Regions from separate parts of the Homo sapiens genome. Here all the other regions are linked to region 1. The links are contacts of gene promoters, found by promoter capture Hi-C in blood cells and fetal thymus (Javierre and others, 2016). All regions are on one chromosome and are shown on one strand. Each heading gives the region's core, a stretch centred on a gene start or on the middle of the fragment in contact. The rest is flanking DNA. Distances are from core to core; before and after follow the strand shown.

Region 1 (4,472 bases), core at 324-2,823:
CTGAGGCGGGCGGATCACGAGGTCAGGAGATCGAGACCATCCTGGCTAACACGGTGAAACCCCGTCTCTACTAAAAATACAAAAATTAGCCGGGCGTAGTGGCGGGCGCCTGTAGTCCCAGCTATTCGGGAGGCTGAGGCCAGAGAATGGCGTGAACCCGGGAGGCGAAGCTTGCAGTGAGCCGAGATCGCGCCACTGCACTCCAGCCTGGGCGACAGAGCGAGACTCCGTCTCAAATTAAAAAAAAAAAAAAAAGATAAGCTTGGGGCGGGGAGGGGTGGATGCAAAATAATAATAATAATGTTTGGACTCATTAATTCCTTGCTTCCTTCAAACTCTGAATATTTTATTATGCCTTTGATTCCTTCTACTCACTTTTGTTTCACCTTTTCCATTCATTTCTTCTTCTCCTCTTCCTCCTTTCTCTTTCCTTTCTGTGTTTCTGCTTATTTTCTATCACAAACCAAAATATGCGGACCATAAACTGCATCTGCAGTTCCTTTAGCCCTAACAGACTACGAGTCCTATTTCTCTTTATCTTTCTCTTTTTCACTTTCTTGTCTTTCCATTACTTACAAGTTTCTTAATTTTCCTGAGTTCAGTTTTTCCATCTGGAAAGTGGAGATAACAATTACTAGATCGTTGTATCAGATGAATTAAGTAATGCTCATGGCTTAACACAAAGGCCAAGATGTCATTAACTTTACCCTCACTTGACCTTCTGCAAGCCTGTTGTGAAATATAAAACACTATAGAAATGTTAGTTGTTTTTGTTTTTATTAAAGTATCATATTGAAGTAGAAAGATGGTTTTGAGTTTGAAAAGCTCCAGATAAATCCTTGGATTTTTATGAGCCTCAATTTCCTTTTCTGTAAAATGAGAACCACATAGGGTTTTTTCCTCCCCAAGAAATTAAGAGTCCATGTACTGAAAGCATCATTCTACAAGTATTAATACATATGTAGTAATCATGGTAGAGGGTGTCCTGAAGTCACAGGGGAATATTTGTGAGGATTCAACGGAATAAAATTTTAAAAGATGTCTGACCAATAGTAAGCACTCAATACATGTTAGCTTTATTCTCTCTTTTATTTTTCTCGCTTCTTTTCTCCTGCTCTTCAAAAAAGTGAGTGGTTGAACCACCTAGGTGATCTCTGCTGCTAAACTTCTATTATTGATTTTTGTTTGCTTCCTCTCTGCCCCTTGTTTCCTCATCCCGTTTTTTTCCCTCTTCTTCACTCCTTCCGTTACAGCTTTTCTCTTGCCTCAGGTACCCAGTGCAGTCCTGATCTCCAGCTCTCCAGCGGCTTAGAACAGACACAGAATGGGCCGGGACCAGGGACCCACCAGAGACGTCTGTAGTTAATAGCTGGCGCTCTTCCACTAATAAAGTTTTATTGAAATAAAGCATTTAAAAAGGCGCCCGTCATTCTTCCCCCAGCGACCAATCGAAGAGTAGAATGCCTGCGTCCCTCACTGGAGCTTCAGCGGTCGGAACGCGGGGGTGGGGCATGTCCTGCCGAAATTTGCGTCCTTAGAGCGGAAGTACGGCCGGAAGCCCGCCATAGAGTTTAGTGGCCAGAGCGACTCTTCAGGGAGGTGGCAGGAAAGGCTTGGAACAGCTGCCGGAGGTGACGGAGCGGCGGCCCCGCCCGGTGCGCTGGAGGTCGAAGCTTCCAGGTAGCGGCCCGCAGAGCCTGACCCAGGGTACGACGAAGCAGTCGGCGGGAGCCCACGGTCGCTGGGCGGTGTCTTTAAGGGAGGGGGCGGAGCCACGTGTAAGCTTCAATGGGGGTGAGGTCACGTGGTTGTGGGCGCGTGCGGGGCAGCAATGGAGAGCTGAGGGAGCGTCGTCAGGGTGGACACCATGCGACACCCATTTCTCCTTTGCATCCTGTGTCTTGGGGTTCAATGGGGTGCACGTGATGGGGCTTGGGGTTAGGCCCAGGGGAGGGGGTGGGTGTGGCAGCCTTGCGAAGTGGCTGACTTTAGGATTCCTAGATCAGAATTTTAGACCGCTCCATGTCTGATTCCTCACCGCAGAACCGACTTAGTGCCTTTACAATCCAGTCCCTCAGCCTTGTGCTTCCCATCCGACCAGCCATCGGGGACCTCTAGCTTCACATCCTCTTTCCTTGCAGCTCTGGACATCCTGAGCCCAAGTCCCCCACACTCAGTGCAGTGATGAGTGCGGAAGTGAAGGTGACAGGGCAGAACCAGGAGCAATTTCTGCTCCTAGCCAAGTCGGCCAAGGGGGCAGCGCTGGCCACACTCATCCATCAGGTGCTGGAGGCCCCTGGTGTCTACGTGTTTGGAGAACTGCTGGACATGCCCAATGTTAGAGAGGTGGGTTGCTGGCTTGAATAGCCCTCAGAGAAGCGTGGGCAAAGGTTTGAATTTGAGAATGGGTGGGCAGGGCTCATTTTGTGATCCAATAACCATTCAGTTGAACAAGAAAACAGTGATAATTAAATGCCAACTTGCAGAAGTAACCAGTGAACAAGCAAACCAGCTCTCCTTTGGAGATAAGGGATCTGTAAAGCCCACTATTTTTCATTTTAAGCAAAAGAGCATCCTATTCAGAATAGGAAACCTGATTTCCAGCCGGTCTCCACCAGTGTAGTAGCTGTTAATTCTCATGTCACCTTGATCAGGTCACTTTTGTTTTAGGGCTTCAGCTTTCTCTTTTTTTTTTTTTTTTTGAGACGGAGTCTTGCTCTGTCACCCAGGCTGGAGTGCAGTGGCGTGATCTCAGCTGAGTGCAAGCTCTGCCTCCTGGGTTCACGCCATTCTCCTGCCTCAGCCTCCTCAGTAGCTGGGACTACAGGCGCCCGCCACCATGCCCGGCTAACTTTTTTGTATTTTTAGTAGAGATGGGATTTCACTGTGTTAGCCAGGATGATCTCGATCTCCTGACCTCGTGATCCGCCCGCCTTGACCTCCCAAGGTGCTGGGATTACAGGCTTGAGCCACCGCACCTAGCCAACTTTCTCTTTTAAAAATGGAGACAATACTGCCCCTCTCTGTTGTGGGAATAAAGTGAGATTATGGGAAAGTGTGAAGTCTGGTACAAGTGGAGAGTGAACATGTTAAATTAGCATGCCCTTTTCTTCCCTATGTGCAGCATATGCTAATCTATTCAAGTTAGCTAAGGGAGAACGTGTCTTTTTCCCAGAGACACATGGCAAACTGCTAGGAACACAGCAGAGAGAACCGTTCACACAAAAGTGGCAGAGTTAATTTACAATCAGAGGAGGCAGCCTGAGTCCTGACATGCTGACAGTGGTATGTGGGTAAACTGAGCTAAGTTATTTGGGGCCTGTGGTTTAACCTTTTGGATCACTCTGTGATATGGAGAAAACTGGCTGACTTTTCCCTGCTTTCATCTGCAGTGGAACTAAAGAGTATCAATCAAAGTGATGAAAAAGAAGCACTTGGCTGGGTGCGGTGGCTCATGCCTGTAATCCCAGCACTTTGGAAGGCCAAGGCAGGTGGATCACCTGAGGGCAGGAGGTGAAACCGATATGGCAGAATCCTGTCTCTGTTAAAAATACAAACAGGGCTGGGCACGGTGGCTCATGCCTGTAATCCCAGCACTTTGGGAGGCTGAGGTGGGCGGATCATGAGGTCAGGAGATGGAGACCATCCTGGCTAACATGGTGAAACCCCGTCTCTACTAAAAATACAAAAAATTAGCCGGGTGTGGTGGCGGGCGCCTGTAGTCCCAGCTGCTTGGAAGGGTGAGGCTGAGGTTGCAGTGAGTTGAGTTCGAGCCACTGCATTCCAGTCTGGGCGACAGAGCGAGACTCCATCTCAAAAAACAAGACAAAAACGAAAAACAGGGCCAGTCATGGTGGCTCATGCCTCTCATGCCTGTTCTCAGCACTTTGGGAGGCCGAGGTGGGTGGATCATGAGGTCAGGAGTTCAAGACCAGCCTGGCCAAGATGGCAAAACCCCGTCTCTGCTAAAAATACAAAAATTAGCCGGGCGCGGTGGCAGGCGCCTGTAATCCCAGCTACTCGGGAGGCTGAGGCAGGAGAATCACTTGAACCTGGGAGGCAGGAGGTTGCAGTGAGCCGAGATTGCACCACTGCATTCCAGCCTGGGCAACAGAGTGAGACTCTGTCTCAAAAAAAAAAATAAATAAATAAATAAAACAAACAAAAGCTCATGTATCCCAGAACTTAAAGTATAATTTAAAAAAAAAAAAAAGGGAGGCGGAGGTTGCAGTGAGCCGAGGTCGCGCCACTGCACTCCAGCCTGGGTGACAGTGTGAGACACCATCTCAAAGAAAAAGAAAAAGAAGCACTTATTAAGTGGCTCTTTACTACCCTTCTTATGGTCTGGGAATACAAGAAAAGCACCAGGCATGGAGCTTACCCTTCTGAAGCTTGCATTCCAGTTGAAGAGAGAAGATGAATGGATAGAAATCTGAATTATTTATTTATTTAGCAAGTATTTCTTGCGAGGC
Region 2 (4,573 bases), core at 1,231-3,730, 190 kb before region 1:
CGGCAATCTCTGCTCCTCTGCTATTACATGAAGCGAAGAGTTTCTGCCTCTCTGTGGCTACTACCGTAGGAAAGGTTCGTGTGAACAATGACGAAACTGTCAGTGATCACCCAGGAAGGAAAGATTTAGGTAAATGCAGAGTGTGGAGTTAGAGACCTCAGCATAAAACAGAGGCTTTGTGTCTGAGGCAGGGTTTGTTAGAACACGCACGTACCCGCCGGCCTTTTCCATCAGCTTCCATTGCTGGCCTGGCCCCGGATGGGGCCCTGTGTTCCCTCCACTAGAGGCAATGATGTCTTGCAGACAAATAAGACACAGAGCCTTGCAGCGCTGGAGAAAAGTCTGACCTCTGTGACTTTGAACCATTGTCTGGCGTGATCCATCTGTTTACCATATATAGGAAACGATGTCTTCCATGAGGAAGAGGTGCAGAAACACGCTTTGGCAACTTAAAACAAATGGGGACCTCATTGTTCCCCTGCTTAATTCAGGAATCCTTTCTCTTTACAGACACATTTGACAATTCTCTAAATGTTTTTGTAGAATTTGCCCTTCCTCACTTTGTTCATGCAAAACAAAGTATGGGCTGGAATCAAAAATGTTGTCTCTGCTTATCCATGATCCCCAATTTCATTCCCTTTAGAATACGAGCTCTGAGACCACCATGGAGGAGGAGCTGGGGCTGGTTGGGGCAACAGCAGATGACACAGAGGCAGAACTAATCCGTGGCATCTGCGAGATGGAACTGTTGGATGGTAAGAAAAATGGCTGCACTCAGCAGTTTCTTCCCAATTAAGATAACCTGTCCCAAACCTGCAGTTACTCTTCCAACAGGCAAACAGACACTGGCTGCCTTTGTTCCACTCTTGCTTAAAGTCTGTAACAACCCAGGCCTCTATAGCAACCCAGACCTCTCTGCAGCTGCTTCACTTGCCCTTGGCAAGTTCTGCATGATCAGGTAGGCCGTGGGGTTGGTACCCCCTTCTCAAGGAAGATGGGGATGAAATGGCTTCCCTAATGATCCTCTTCTTGCTCTTAGTGCCACTTTCTGCGACTCCCAGCTTCGTCTTCTGTTCACCATGCTGGAAAAGTCTCCACTTCCCATTGTCCGGTCTAACCTCATGGTTGCCACTGGGGATCTGGCCATCCGCTTTCCCAATCTGGTGGACCCCTGGACTCCTCATCTGTATGCTCGGTAAGAGACCCCTCACAACGTGGTGGCAGTTCCCAGGAGCCCCGGAGTCTGTTGAGAGTCAGTGTGAGAATCACCAGGGCTCTTCCCCTAGGCTTTGGCATCACCGCGAACATCTGCTTGATACTTGACCTGTACAGGCCCCTGGCTAAGAGTCACCCCAGTGGGACTGACACTTCTGGTTAGAAGCTTCACCTCTTTCCCCCACTCCAGCTTTCAACTCTAGACAGCTTTCTGACTGCTTCTGGAGTGGCAGAGCATGGGATAATTGATTCCTGCTGAGGGCCTTTTCTACCAGTGTTAGGGTGTAGCCCGGAGGTCTCGGTCCCCATGACCCGCAATTCCATTCCTAGTCTCCGGGACCCTGCTCAGCAAGTGCGGAAAACAGCGGGGCTGGTGATGACCCACCTGATCCTCAAGGACATGGTGAAGGTGAAGGGGCAGGTCAGCGAGATGGCGGTGCTGCTCATCGACCCCGAGCCTCAGATTGCTGCCCTGGCCAAGAACTTCTTCAATGAGCTCTCCCACAAGGTGAGAGGCAGAGAGGCACTGAGGGCTGGCTGCAGAGGGAATCTGTAGGTCACCTCATCTCCTTAACATGGCTCTCTCTGTCTTACAGGGCAACGCAATCTATAATCTCCTTCCAGATATCATCAGCCGCCTGTCAGACCCCGAGCTGGGGGTGGAGGAAGAGCCTTTCCACACCATCATGAAGTATTGCTCCCCGGGCCCTGGGGCACATTTTCCACATAGCACGGGCTTAGGAATCAGACACACCTGTATTTGAATTCCACCTCGGCTACTCTTTAGCTGTACAGCCTTCGGCAATAACTTAGCCTCTCTTTGTGCCTATTTCCTCTTCTTTTGAGGCTGATGATACTTAACCCTTAGTTCTTGAAAATATTAAATACGATAAAGTTCCTAACATGGTGGCAGACATACAGTAGCACTCACTCCCTAGCAGCTGCTCCTGTTAATTTCCATTCACAGTGAAAATTCCTGAGCCGGGGGCGGGGTGGGGTCCCTCTCTGCTGAATGGGACAGGGCAAGGGGAGTGGTGAGGCAGACAGGGGCCGTGGCAGAGAACATCAGAGAAGACGAGTGCTGGGGGAGGGTCCAGGGTTGGTCTTAGTGGATGGCAGAGCTGGCCCTGGGCCATCGAACATCCTCATCTCCCCTTCCTGCAGACAGCTCCTCTCCTACATCACCAAGGACAAGCAGACAGAGAGCCTGGTGGAAAAGCTGTGTCAGCGGTTCCGCACATCCCGGTATGCTGCCCTCCCTGAGGGTTCTTTGTGCTGAGCGGGGCCCTGCAGGGGAGAAAGGCCCATCCCTCACCCCTTCAATGCCCCCACTGTGGCATCCCTGGGACTGGGGAGGCTGATGGGGAAGGTTGAGCCTTTACTAGCTGGATCTCCCAGTTCCTCACAAAGCCCTTCCTATCTGCAGAACTGAGCGGCAGCAGCGAGACCTGGCCTACTGTGTGTCACAGCTGCCCCTCACAGAGCGAGGCCTCCGTAAGATGCTTGACAATTTTGACTGTTTTGGAGACAAACTGTCAGATGAGTCCATCTTCAGTGCTTTTTTGTCAGTTGTAGGCAAGCTGCGACGTGGGGCCAAGCCTGAGGGCAAGGTGAGCAGCACAGGACACTTCAATGCCTGTTGGGTTCTGGGCTGGCTAAGACATCTGCCGGCCCTGGGCAGCATACGGCTCTTGCAGTCACCTTCCCGTCCTCCTTATCCCCAGCTGGGTTGCAACCAAATTGCCAGAGTGACCTAAGACCAGATCTTTGTCTCCAGTTCTTTTTTTATTACTCCAAAAACACAACCAAAGCAGCATCTCATCCAATTCTTGTTTGTTTGTTTTTAATAGTTTTTATTTTTCAGAGCAGTTTTAGGTTCAAAGCAAAATTGAGCAGAAAGTACAGGGAGTTCCCTTCTACCCCTTGCCCCTACACATCACAGCCTTCCCCACCTTCAACATCCTGCACCAGGGTGGCACATTTGTTACAGCTGAACCTACACTTACACATCATCTCCTAAAGTCATGGTTTACCTTGGAGTTCACTGCACGTAATGACATGTACCCACCATTGCAGTATCATACAGAAGAGTTTCACTGCCTTACAAATCCCCTGCACTCCACCTATTTATCCCTCTCTCCCCACAACCCCTGATCTTTTTACTGTTGCCATCACTTTGTCTTTTCCAGAATGTATCATTGGAATGATCCGGTATGGAGCCTTCTCACCTTGGCTTCTTAGTAATGTGCGTTTAAGGCCTCCATGTCTTCCATGGCCTTGTTTCTTTTTAATCAGAAGTAACTGTTTTCAGGCCTGCTCTGAATCTCCTTTTCTCCCTCCAGGCTATAATAGATGAATTTGAGCAGAAGCTTCGGGCCTGTCATACCAGAGGTTTGGATGGAATCAAGGAGCTTGAGATTGGCCAAGCAGGTAGCCAGAGAGCGCCATCAGCCAAGAAACCATCCACTGGTACGTAAGGCAGCCTGTGCGGGCGAGACCAGACTGGGCCCTCCCCTCCTGCAGTGATTTGTTTCTTCTTCTTTTTTAAATCACGTTTTCCTGCCTTTTCTAGGTTCTAGGTACCAGCCTCTGGCTTCTACAGCCTCAGACAATGACTTTGTCACACCAGAGCCCCGCCGTACTACCCGTCGGCATCCAAACACCCAGCAGCGAGCTTCCAAAAAGAAACCCAAAGTTGTCTTCTCAAGTGATGAGTCCAGTGAGGAAGGTATGATGCTCCCGCCTGTTCCCGGCCGAGAAGGCACACAGCTAGGGTGCAGAGGGCTGGTTTCCATAGGACCTGCTGCGGGGGCCTGAGTGTAGATGCTCTGCCCCACTGCCGCAGAAGGGCCTCTCCTGTACAGCTTGGATTTTATTTCTTCTGTGCGGTGTGGGATTGTCTCACTTGTTCTCTGATATCTATTTTTTCACCATCTTTGTGACTCAGCTTTTTCTTATTCCTTTAATTCTTTGCATAGATCTTTCAGCAGAGATGACAGAAGACGAGACACCCAAGAAAACAACTCCCATTCTCAGAGCATCGGCTCGCAGGCACAGATCCTAGGAAGTCTGTTCCTGTCCTCCCTGTGCAGGGTATCCTGTAGGGTGACCTGGAATTCGAATTCTGTTTCCCTTGTAAAATATTTGTCTGTCTCTTTTTTTTAAAAAAAAAAAAGGCCGGGCACTGTGGCTCACGCCTGTAATCCCAGCACTTTGCGATACCAAGGCGGGTGGATAACCTGAGGTAGGGAGTTCGAGACCAGCCTGACCAACATGGAGAAACCCCATCTCTACTAAAAATAAAAAATTAGCCGGGCGTATTGGCGTGCGCCTGTAATCCCAGCTACTCAAGAGGCTG
Region 3 (4,147 bases), core at 1,648-4,147, 250 kb after region 1:
CTAATATCCACCTATGATACACTGTCCAGACCTGGTTATTATTTAAAACTTTTACATCTGCATTTTTATCTATCATTCATCTCTTTCCCCACATGTAATAGAACCAGCAGTTCTCTATCTTAAAGCCTTGGGCAGTGTTCTTCCTCCTCCTTTCTCTTACCCGTTAGAACTAATTGAATAGGCCCAGAAGAAATCGCATTGGTTTAGAAGTCAGGCCAGGATTTTAATCTTCGTTCTAAATACACTTTTTTTTTTTTTTTTTTTTGAGATGGAGTCTCAGTCTCTACCAGGCTGGAGTGCAGTGGCACGATCTTGGCTCACTGCAGCCTCCGCCTCCCGGGTTCAATCGATTCTCCTGCCTCAGCCTCCAGAGTAGCTGGGATTACAGGCCTGCGCCTGTAATCTATTAAAAGAATAGAAAACATGATTATATCCTACTAATGGGTTGAAACTGTATTATTCATTCAAGAAGGTTTTTTTCTTCTATAACTAAGGGTGTCTCATGGACTTAGTTCTTGGTCATTTGTTCTTTGTGCTCTCTGTGACATTACTTCAACTATTCAATTTCAAAATCTACATCCCTTTTTTCGCAGACTTTTTGGAGCCATATATCTCAAGAATGTTGCTAGACATATACATTCCAGTGATACATAAAAACTTAACCTTCCAAAACTTGTATTTGTATATAACAGTTTGTTTTTAGACTTTTTACTGACCACCCTAATGCTCCTTGGGACTCCAAATTGCAACTTGGAATTATTTCTTTTAGCTGCTACAGATGTAGTCCACTTCTTTAACATCAAACTTCTGATGTCTTTTCCAGTGTACAGAGAGTTGTTAGGATAGTGTCTGTCAGTCATTCCCATCCTGCCCTGCTTACTCCAGAATTATTTTTGGCTTTGTGCTTGATACATTAGGATTCTGTGGTTTACAAAGCAGCTTCATATATAATCACTGCCCTTTAGTGTCTCAGCTCCCAATTTTCCTCAAAATTTCCTTTCTTCGTTTCCACTTTTTCTTTTTTGTTTCTTTTTTGAGATAGGGTCTTGCTCTGTTGCCTGGGCAACAGAGTGCAGTGGTGTGATGGTTCACTGCAGCCTCTACTTCCCTGGCTCAAGCAGTCCTCCCACCTCATCCTCCTGAGTAACTGGGACTGCCAGCAAATGGCACTGCGCCTGGCTAATTTTTTTTTTTTTTTTTGTGAGACAGGGTCCCACCGTGTTGCCCAGGCCGGTCTCAAATTCCTGGGCTCAAGTGATCCTTCCACCTCGGCCTCCTAAAGTGTTGGGATCACAGGCATAAGCCACCACACCTGGCTACTTTGTCTTGATTCCATCTGTACCTTTGCTCATGCCAGTCTTTCTTTTTTCTTTTTTTTGAGACAGGGTCTTGCTGGAGTGCAGTGGTACAGTCTTGGCTCACTGCAATCTCTGTCTCCTGGGCTCAAGCCATCCTCCCACCTTAGCCTCCCAAGTAGCTAGGACTACAGGCATGTGCCACCATGCCCAGCTAATTTTTGTATTTTTAGTAGAGATGGGGTTTCGCCATGTTGCCCAGGCTGGTCTTGAACTCCTGACCTTAAGTGATTTGCCTGCCTTGGCCTCCCAGAGTGCTGGGATTACAGCCGTGAGCCACTGCATCTGCCCCCATGCCCGTCTTAAAACTGGGAATAACCCCTCTTCCTTTTACTTCTGAGAGTTTTCTTTGATTAAACTGCCTCCTGCATCATTAGTTTTCACATTTCTTTTTTTTGAGATGGAGTCTCGCTCTGTTGCCCGGGCTGGAGTGCAGTGGCGCTGCAAGCTCCGCCTCCTGGGTTCATGCCATTCTCCTGCCTCTGCCTCCCAAGTAGCTGGGACTACAGGCGCCTGCCACCATGCCCGGCTAATTTTTTATATTTTTAGTAGAGATGGGGTTTCACCGTGTTAGCCACGATGGTCTCAATCTCCTGACCTTGTGATCTGCCCGCCTCGGCCTCCCAAAGTGCTGGGATTACAGGCGTGAGCCACCACGCCCGGCCTTCACATTTCTTGTTCAGATTTGCAGCTCTTCACTTAGTGCATGTTTGGTGTACGCAAACTGAGGGTGGTGACTCGATATTTTGCACAGTACCTACTTACTGCTCCTGTAATAAACACAGCATTCAGCCTTGCTAACTACTAACTCCTGCCTAGTTCCAGGATGTCTCATTGGCCTTGCCTAACAGCCACAGGTTTTTTAATTAAATCCAGTGTATTAGTAGATAATGTGAAGTCACAGGTTGTGCCCTTCCTCCTGTTTCCCTCTCAGACCATTCACTGGGGAGTGCAAATAAGGCTGCACAGTAATCCCCCGAAGGGCTTGCTGGGCTCCACCCCCAGTGTTCCTGGTTTAGTAGGTCTAGGGTGGGCCTGAGAATTTGCCTAACAAGTTTCCAGGTGCAGCTGCTGCTGGTAGTTTGGGGACCACACTTGAAGAACCACGGGGCTAGGTAACAGAAGCTTATGCTGTTCTCTCGTCATGTTCCCTGTTCTTCAGGTAGGGAAGACATATGAGCTACTCAACTGTGACAAGCACAAGTCTATATTGTTGAAGAATGGACGGGACCCTGGGGAAGCGCGGCCAGATATCACCCACCAGGTAACTCCAGGGACAGTGCTCACAACCCTTTGAGCCTCTGTATGGAAGGGTTGGCAGCTGAGTGCTGCCTCTCTTCAGCCTTAACCATGTCTCGGTTTCTGCTTTGCTCAGAGTTTGCTGATGCTGATGGATAGTCCCCTGAACCGAGCTGGCTTGCTACAGGTTTATATCCATACACAGAAGAATGTTCTGATTGAAGTGAATCCCCAGACCCGAATTCCCAGAACCTTTGACCGCTTTTGTGGCCTCATGGGTAAGAAGCCTTAGAACAAAGTTAGAATGAACTTGTCAGTAGGGAAGAAGGGAGGAAGAGGAAAAGGGAGAACTAAATGTGGATTTTTAAGCGAGAAAATGGGAGAACAACATGATTAATACCAGGACAAGGACTGTTATTATTTTTCTATGTTTGTGGAAACTCCACTCCTGTTCTTGCAGTAGCTTCCTGGCTGAGTGAAAGAGGGAGTCTGAACCCATCACTGTACAGCTAGCCATATGCTTGGCAACTGTTTGTTCCTAACATTTCAGGAGTCCAGTCTAGATATAAAGCACACAGGGAACTCATCTTATCCATGGGGTTTTCCTTGTTCGATGACTGGACAGAAGGACTGTGGTCTCCATCTAGCTCTGAACTCTTTTTTCCCCCTTCTAGTTCAACTTTTACACAAGCTCAGTGTTCGAGCAGCTGATGGCCCCCAGAAGCTTTTGAAGGTGAGGTATTGAAACCTGTTAGTTGAAGGCTGGTTCTGGGAATGTTTCTGGGGCTGACTTTTCTCTCTTTTTTACTTTAGGTAATTAAGAATCCAGTATCAGATCACTTTCCAGTTGGATGTATGAAAGTTGGCACTTCTTTTTCCATCCCGGTTGTCAGTGATGTGCGTGAGCTGGTGCCCAGCAGTGATCCTATTGTTTTTGTGGTAGGGGCCTTTGCCCATGGCAAGGTAAGGTCTGGGCTCAACCCTGAAATTCTTGGTAGAGCTGAACTTAGTATAGAATTCCCAGAGCAGTAGGCATTTTAACAATGCTTACAATGAGCTAGAAGACACATGACAGTTCCACACCCTGCCCCAGGGCACATCCTTTGAGGGCTGCTGCCATAATTGGAAGTCACAGTTAGGACCTTCTTCATCCTTTGTAGGGATTTGATATTCAACAGCACAGCTGAAATACTAGCTCAGCCATAGTTTTCCTGCCCTAAAGAAGGGCTGAAACAGCTACTGAGTGACAGAGTTGGCTGACAAAACTGTTCTTTTCTTAGGTCAGTGTGGAGTATACAGAGAAGATGGTGTCCATCAGTAACTACCCCCTTTCTGCTGCCCTCACCTGTGCAAAACTTACCACAGCCTTTGAGGAAGTATGGGGGGTCATTTGACAGTAGTAGAACCTGTTCTGAAACCAGAAACTGTTGATGTCACATCCTTTGACCCTGGTCTGAGCTGACTGCTGGAAGATGATCTTTCTGCACTGAGACTGTGGAGTTTGGGGAAGCCAAGGCTGTACATTTGCTATTTGTTTATCCTATGAATACTGT

The links. The method cuts DNA at HindIII sites, captures the fragments that hold promoters and counts their contacts. A CHiCAGO score of 5 or more calls a contact.
Region 2: a fragment that was not itself captured here is called in contact with the fragment with the promoter of COPS7A in region 1 in 1 of 17 cell types (activated CD4 T cells); the score reaches 5.5 in activated CD4 T cells.
Region 3: a fragment that was not itself captured here is called in contact with the fragment with the promoter of COPS7A in region 1 in 3 of 17 cell types (non-activated CD4 T cells, total B cells and activated CD4 T cells); the score reaches 9.2 in non-activated CD4 T cells.

The regions. Positions count from the first base shown.
Region 1 is chr12:6,722,473-6,726,944 of GRCh38, forward strand. It overlaps COPS7A (COP9 signalosome subunit 7A), which reads left to right and starts at 1,574. Exons shown (of 8, transcript NM_001164094.2): 1 at 1,574-1,707; 2 at 2,142-2,346. The coding sequence starts at 2,185. RefSeq lists enhancers at 1,499-1,708, 1,739-1,878, 2,009-2,228. The HindIII fragment of the contact is 1,412 bases long and covers 260-1,671 here.
Region 2 is chr12:6,527,134-6,531,706 of GRCh38, forward strand. NCAPD2 (non-SMC condensin I complex subunit D2) reads left to right here. Exons shown (of 32, transcript NM_014865.4): 23 at 644-755; 24 at 835-958; 25 at 1,040-1,195; 26 at 1,546-1,723; 27 at 1,812-1,906; 28 at 2,380-2,460; 29 at 2,642-2,825; 30 at 3,558-3,684; 31 at 3,788-3,943; 32 at 4,194-4,573. The coding sequence ends at 4,279. Among named protein-coding and RNA genes, the nearest start is that of GAPDH-DT, 5.0 kb to the right of the region's middle. The HindIII fragment of the contact is 2,203 bases long and covers 1,380-3,582 here.
Region 3 is chr12:6,971,822-6,975,968 of GRCh38, forward strand. EMG1 (EMG1 N1-specific pseudouridine methyltransferase) reads left to right here. Exons shown (of 6, transcript NM_006331.8): 2 at 2,518-2,619; 3 at 2,731-2,872; 4 at 3,269-3,327; 5 at 3,408-3,557; 6 at 3,875-4,147. The coding sequence ends at 3,988. Among named protein-coding and RNA genes, the nearest start is that of EMG1, 3.0 kb to the left of the region's middle. The HindIII fragment of the contact is 838 bases long and covers 2,479-3,316 here.